2 separate regions of the Homo sapiens genome follow, and region 2 is linked to region 1. The links are contacts of gene promoters, found by promoter capture Hi-C in human tissues and cell types (Jung and others, 2019). All regions are on one chromosome and are shown on one strand. The core of a region is centred on a gene start or on the middle of the fragment in contact, and the rest is flanking DNA. Distances in the headings are between cores, read along the strand shown. Region 1 holds the start of VWCE (von Willebrand factor C and EGF domains). Region 2 overlaps CYB561A3 (cytochrome b561 family member A3).

Region 1 (3,506 bases), core at 400-2,899:
ATGATTCTGCGAGGCAGGCACTTTGTAAAGCACCCACTCTGCGCTGGGCACTGGGGACATGGGACAAGGCAAACTTAGCGTGTTCTTGGGGAGAAAAATCTGTGCCAAAATGTGACAAGTATTCCGGAAAGGGAAGCTCAGGGTGCAATGGCAGCACACAAAAGTCTGAGGAAAGCTGTCCCTGGGGCCTTTTTCCCTCTCTGAGGTCATCACAGAAGAAAGGGGGGGCCCTCCTGCTGGCGGGAGCTGGCAGTGAAGTCTCATCCACCCCCTTGCTGGAGTGATTATGGCAGCAGCCTGAGAAGGAGGGGACCGGGCGAATGAGCGGAGCCTTGGGACTCTCAGAAACGGACAGGCAGTGCCACCAAGGCGGCAGATAAAAGGGTGCCCAGGGAGGCTGATGGAGTCGAACTCTCAGGTGGGCAGGGACCGAGCACCCGCCAGAGCGCCCTAAGGAGCCTCCTAGGGCTGGTGACAGAGGGACAGGTGGTGGGAGCCTGTGGAACGCCGGGGAGTCGGGGCAGGTTCTGAGCAGGAACTGGCGGTGGCTGTGGAACACACGTGTGAGCTACAAGCCTGGCCGGGCCGCCCCCGCTGCGCGCCCCCCGGAGGACGTGGCCGCGGGCCAGGCCGCCTGCTGACACAGTGTTCCCTAGCTCCGAGCATCACGCACACACGCGCACGGCCCCACCGCGGCCCGGGGGAAAGCACGTGCGGAGGGCGGCATCCATCGCGAAAGACAGCGGAGGGGCATGCACCCCACCCCCACGCGCGCACACGCACGGACAGAAAACGAAAAGTGACCCAGAGACCCCGGCTGTTCCAAGGTCCATGAAGTTCGTAGGGCCAAGACCCAGGGAAAGCCCCGCGCGGCAGGGGAGGCCAGGCGCTGCCCGGGCAGAGCCACGGGCACGCTGGGGGGTGAGCCAGCCAGTCCGGAGACCAGATGGCACGTCCTGGGCTCCCCTCTCCAGAGGTCCGCGCTCCAGGGCACATTAGGAGTCACCCAACGCCTGGACCTCCGATCTCCCAGGTCCCAGTCTGGACAGCCCCAGCCAGGGGGGCACGATGAGCACCCGCCTAGAGGCACAAGTTGCTGACTCTTTGTGCCGTCCCCGAGCTGTGCCCGCGCTGATAGCACCCCAGAGGAAGCCCCGACACGCGGCTGCCTGCGGCTCCTGAGCGCCCCTCCGCGCCTCTCGACTGCACGCCGGTAGCGCTCTCCCGGGCGGGGGAGCGGGGAGGAGCTCCGGGCGCTTACCTCTCGGCCGCGAAGTGCCCGGGCGGCTTCCTCCCGGTGTAGCCTCGGGCTGGTGCCCCCGGCAGCAGGAGCGCGACACAGGCGGCCCGAAGGAGCAGTCCGGCCCACATGACCGGCGGCGGCGGGTCCCCCGGGCTGGGCTCGGCTCCTGCGCCGCGCGCGGGAGAGGGGGCTGCCGGCCCTCGCCCCTCCTCCTGGCGCCGTGGGGAGCGAACCAGCGATCCCCGAAATGGCACGCAGAGCTGAGCAGGGGGGCTTGGGACGCCGAGAGGAGGGGCCGAGGGCCGCGAGGGGACGCGGCGGACGATTGTGGGGAGGGTCTCTGGCACCTCGAAGCGAAACACACAAAGGCAACGCCGCCCGCCTGCTGATGCCTCTCCGAGAGGCGCGGAGCCCGGGGCGGGGGCAAAGATCAGGGACCCCTGGGGGCGGGGTTTCGCCCTCGGCCCACACCCCCTGCCCCGGTTTGGGAGTCGGCTTCCTGCGAAGCGCTGACTGAAGGCGTCAGACCGAGGCCCCGGGAGGAAACAGACTTCGGGAACAAGGCTAGCACCAGAGGCTGCGCGCCCCGGGCATGGCCCCTGTCGGTGGGACCCGAGACGCCTTGTTGTGACGAGGTGGGAACCGTGGAAATTCGAACCCACGACGCCAGGTCGCTGTGCCGCTGAGCAGTTCTAGGCCTGCCCCCAGCCTGCCAGAAGGTCTGCACCCTAACGCCGGAGTGCGTTGATCTGTGGGTCCAACCGCTCCCTGGCCTGGGGCCCTAGCCACTTTTGAAGCCCCGGGCTCCTCTGGGCACCCAGGGGGCAGATGGCCGGCCTCCCGACTGCTGGTGGCAAGACCAGGAAGCAGCTGGCGCCGTTGGCAGTGGAGAGGCAGCAGCAGATCTGGAAGGCTCCTCTTTGCCCCTTCTGCAGCTGCCCCAGGCCGTGGTCAGAGACTGGGGGGCTGCCTAGGGATTTAGGCAAAGAAGGGGTGCGGAAATCAAAATCATCCCGCTGGGAGAAAGCTGAAAGGATAACTGATTTTACCTTCTGCTCCATGCAGTAATCTTTCCCTTAGCCACCCACAATTAGTCAAGATTTTGCTTAAATACTTCCAGGGGTAAGAAACTCACTATCTGTTAAGAAGCGGCCCAATCCAGTTTTGAACCACATTTGTTTTAAAGTGTCTTCACTTCCCAGTTGAACAATCCCTGTTCCTTTGGCCTTCCTGCTACCTCTGCCTTTACTGAGGTGCTTAACATTGGTGGCCACAAATGGACATGGCGTACCAGCGGTGGCCTGGACTCGTGCCTCCTTCCTGCAGACACCATACTTTTACTAATGCACCCTAATATTACGTTTTTGGCAACCCCATGATGTTAATTATGACACATTGAGTTTGCAGTAAAGAAAAACCACAGGTGGCCGGGCGCGGTGGCTCACACCTGTAATCCCAGCACTTTGGGAGGCTGAGGTGGGCGGATCACCTGAGGTCAGGAGTTCCAGAACCAGCCTAGCCAATATGGTGACGCCCCATCTCTACTAAAAATACAAAAATTAGCTGGGCATGGTGGCGGGCGCCTGTATTCCCAGCTACTCAGGTTGAGGCAGGAGAATCACTTGAACCCAGGAGGCAGAGGTTGCAGTGAGCCAAGATTGCACCATTGCACTCCAGCCTGGGCGACAGAGCAAGGCTCCATCTCAAAAAAAAAAAAGAACGAAAAAAAGCAGGCATTTTTTGTTGTGCTTTTATGTTATTTAAACACAAGCTGCCAAGTGGTCTCCCTACCTGAAGCTGTGTGGCCCCATTTTTTTTTTTTTTTTTTTAGATGGAGTCTTTCTCTGTCGCCCAGGCTGGAATGCAGTGGCACGATTTCGGCTCACTGCAACCTCCATCTCCCGGGTTCAAGCAATTCCCCTTCCTCAGCCTCCCGAGTAGCTGGGACTACAGGCGCACATCACCATGCCCAGGTAATTTTTGTATTTTTAGTAGGGACGGGGTTTCACCATGTTGACCAGGCTGGTCTTGAACTCCTGACCTCAAATGATCCACCCACGTCAGCCTCCCAAAGTGCTGGGATTACAGGCGTGAGCCACCGCACCCGGCTTGTGGCTACATTTTTGCAGACATTCACCTTGAGGCCGTATCTCACCTTGTTTGTTTTGGCCCATTTTCTTGTCAACATATTCTCAACAAGTAGGAGCCAAAATATTCTGTAACATAAGATGAATGCAATTTCCGTCATATCCATTCTGAGTCC
Region 2 (3,506 bases), core at 590-3,089, 61 kb after region 1:
ATGCCACTGCAATCTAGCCTGGGCCACAGAGAGAAATAAATAAATAAACAGATTCCAATTAAAAAGGGAGGAGGGCTGGGCACGGTGACTCATGTCAGCACTTTGGGAGGCCAGAAGTTCAAGATCAGCCTGGGCAACATAGCAAGATCCTGTGTCCACAAAAAATAAAAATAAAAAATATTATCCGGGCATGGTGGCACATGCCTGTTCTCTCAGCTACTTGGGGGACTGAGGTGGGAGGATCACTTGAGCCTAAGAGTTCAAGGCTGCAGCAAGCTATGATCATCCCACTGCACTCTAGCCTGAAAAAGAGGGAAACCTGTCTCCTAAAAAAAAAGTGGAGGGGGGAAGCAGGTTTCTTGGACCTCTCATTCTATTTTCACAATAATAAATTCAGCTTGTTTGCAGTTTCTAGGCTAAAAAGCATCATGACAGTCATTGTTTCATCAAACTGAATTGTCACAAGTGAGGCTGGCTGTCAACACAGGTACTAAGGTCAGGCAACATAGGTCCAAATCCAGGCTCTGCCTCTTAGCTGTTTGGCCTCTCCTTTCTTTTTTTTTTTTTTTTTTTTTGAGACAGAGTCTCGTTCTATCATCCAGGCTGGAGTGCAGCGGCGCAATCTCAGCTCACTGCAAGCTCCGCCTCCCGGGTTCACGCCATTCTCCTGCCTCAGCCTCCCAAGTAGCTGGGACTACAGGTGCCTGCCACCATACCCGGCTAATTTTTTGTATTTTTAGTAGAGACGGGGTTTCACTGTGTTAGCGAGGATGGTCTCGATCCCCTGACCTCATGATCCGCCCACCTCAGTCTCCCAAAGTGCTGGGATTACAGGCGTGAGCCACCACGCCTGGCCTGGCCTCTCCTGTCTAACTCTCAATTTCCTCATCTGTAAAAGGGATATAACAGAGCCCACCTCACAAACTTGTAAGAACAAAATGGGATGATATATGTGAACTGCACATGGTAAGCTGCTATCATCAATGGCATCGTATTGCCATTTTACAAATGGGGAAAATGAGGCTCACCAGGGCCCCAAGGCACAGATTTGAAAGCATGGGACAAAGATTACAAAGATGGATCCCAGGTTGGGCGCAGTGGCTCACACCTGTAATCCCAGCACTTTGGGAGGCAGAGGCGGGTGGATCACCTGAGGTCAGGAGTTCGAGGCCAGCCTGACCAACATGGTGAAACCCCATCTCTACTAAAAAATATAAAAATTAGCTGGGCATGATGGCGGGCACCTATAATCTCAGGTACTTGGGAGGCTGAGGCAGGAGAATGGCCTGAACCCAGGAGGCGGAGGTTGCAGTGAGCCAAGATCACGCCATTGCACTCCAGCCTGGGCAACAAGAGCAAAACTCCATCTCAAAAAAAGAAAAAAAAAAAAAAGATGGATCCCGGAAGAGCAAGCAAGTCCCTCATTCGGTGGCCTGACTAAACCATGAGAGGCTTCAATCTCCTGTTCTCTAGAGCTGGTTAAAAACTACAGCTCAGGTCGGGCATGATGGCTCAAGCCTGTAATCCCAGCACTTCAGGAGGCTGAGGTGGGCAGATCACAAGGTCAGGAGATCAAGACCATCCTGGCTAACACGGTGAAACGCTGTCTCTACTAAAAATACAAAAAAAAATTAGCCGGTCACGGTGGCAGGCGCCTGTAGTCCCAGCTACTCGGGAGGCTGAGGCAGGAGAATGGCGCAAACCTGGGAGGTGGAGCTTGCAGTGAGCCGATATCACGCCACTGCACTCCAGCCTGGGCGACACAGCAAGACTCCGTCTAGAGAAAAAAAAAAAAAAAAAAAACACTACAGCTCAAAGGCCAAATCCAGCTCGCTACCTATGTTTGCAAATAAAGCTTTATTGGAACACGTGATCCACACTTGTGTGTATGTGTTGTCTATGGCTGCTCTCACAATACAGTGGCAGAGCTGAGTAACTGCAACACAGATTCTGTCTTGCAAAACTGAAATATTTATCTGACCCTCTATAGAAAGTTTGCCAACTCCTGCCCTAGAGTATTTGTGAAGCCACCCTTCTGAGATGCCCCCCATCTTAACCCCTTCCTCCCCCAAATGACAGCTAGGCCCAGAGACAGCCCAACCCACCCTACCCCCATAGCCCCAAGCCCAACATTTACAAAGGCCAGCCTTGGAGAGGGAAAGTGCAGCTTTGTCCAGCCTGAGCCCTATCCCGCCTCCCTTCCTGACCTCTTACTCACCACCTCCATAGAATACCACCATGCCAGCAACCATAAGCACTGGGTGCCAGTTGAACATGTAGATGCTGCCATTCCAGGCAAAGCCACCACGCCAGTACTGCATCCAGTAGATAGTGAAGAGGATGCACATAGAGCCCAGGGACCCCAGCAGCAGGCAGGACAAGTAGAACCGTCCAGACACCATTCTGATCACGCACTCCTAGAAGAAGGAGAAGTCACAAATCTCCACTGGCTCAGATGCACCCAGTTCTCTGGCTAAAGGAGGTAACACTGATTTAGCTCTTGGCCTGTGGGATGGAATCTTTTTGCTTCAGTTCCCCTGCATCAGCCTGGGCACCACCCCCCGCCCGAGGCCTCAATGCCTGGGTGGGCCTGATCTTCAGTCACAATGACTGAGGCCCCACCCCAGCACCTGGCAGTGCCCAGACAGAGCAGCAAACTCAAGGCTATGGCTGGCCCTGGCGAAGGCCAGATGCCAAGGCCCAAGACCCAGAGTCCTGGGATTCCTCTCCCCTCACAGGACCAGAAGGTAAAGAATTACCACCCCATACCCCCCAGGAAAAAAGGGACAGGAATCAAAATCCAGGCTAAATTACGCAAACACCCAGGCCTTGGGTTCTAAGATAAGAAGGCAAAAATTACAGTCTGAAAAGAGCAAACACCCCACTATTACCCTAGACAGGAAGGAGTCAGAAAAGTTCTTCCCCATAGAGTAAGCTCTATGGGGCTAATCTTCACTGGAGAGGTAACCAGGCCTTCACTCCACTGCCCACACTCCACACCTTGAACCAGCTGATGCCCCTCAGCTGTCTCCAGCCCTGAGACTTCTGCTTTCTCTTCCTCTGGGGAAAGTCCAGAGAAAAAAAGAGGAAGCAACAACTCATGGTCCAGAAAGCAAGAGATTTATTTTGAGATTTCCACAAGTCCTTGATAAACCCAGAAACCAACTCTGGTTTCAGGCATGGCAAATGCTTAAAGCCCTGAGCAGTTGCTCTTAAACGCTAGGTGAGTGGGCAAAGCCACAGGACTGGCCCTGCTTTCAGCTAATATGTAGGCAGCACGGGCCCAGGCATCAAGGCAGTCACCCTGTCCCACGGACTCACACCAAGAAGGCAACAGTGTGGCTTCCTGCATTGAGGTCCCTCACTCGGAAGCAGCTAATAGCCAATAGCCCCCACGGAGGTAAAACATTTGACTGCTCACCTTTAGCCCTAATGATAGGCTCAGAGAACTGGCCTGGGCTCCAATTCCTGCGAAATGGGCACCTTGAGCAAATCACTTAACATTT

What was found. Contacts are between HindIII fragments. The study calls those that stand out against the background at their distance.
Region 2: a contact is called between a fragment that was not itself captured here and the fragment with the promoter of VWCE in region 1, in 3 of the 25 tissues and cell types used here (H1 embryonic stem cells, IMR-90 fibroblasts and pancreas).

The regions. Positions count from the first base shown.
Region 1 is chr11:61,293,667-61,297,172 of GRCh38, forward strand. VWCE (von Willebrand factor C and EGF domains) reads right to left here and starts at 1,650. Exons shown (of 20, transcript NM_152718.2): 1 at 1,262-1,650. The coding sequence starts at 1,371. RefSeq lists silencers at 470-729, 1,170-1,479, 1,660-1,729 and an enhancer at 701-1,403. The HindIII fragment of the contact is 27,132 bases long and covers 1-3,506 here.
Region 2 is chr11:61,354,312-61,357,817 of GRCh38, forward strand. CYB561A3 (cytochrome b561 family member A3) reads right to left here. Exons shown (of 7, transcript NM_153611.6): 2 at 3,422-3,506; 3 at 2,219-2,417. The coding sequence starts at 2,402. Among named protein-coding and RNA genes, the nearest start is that of CYB561A3, 5.8 kb to the right of the region's middle. The HindIII fragment of the contact is 3,137 bases long and covers 272-3,408 here.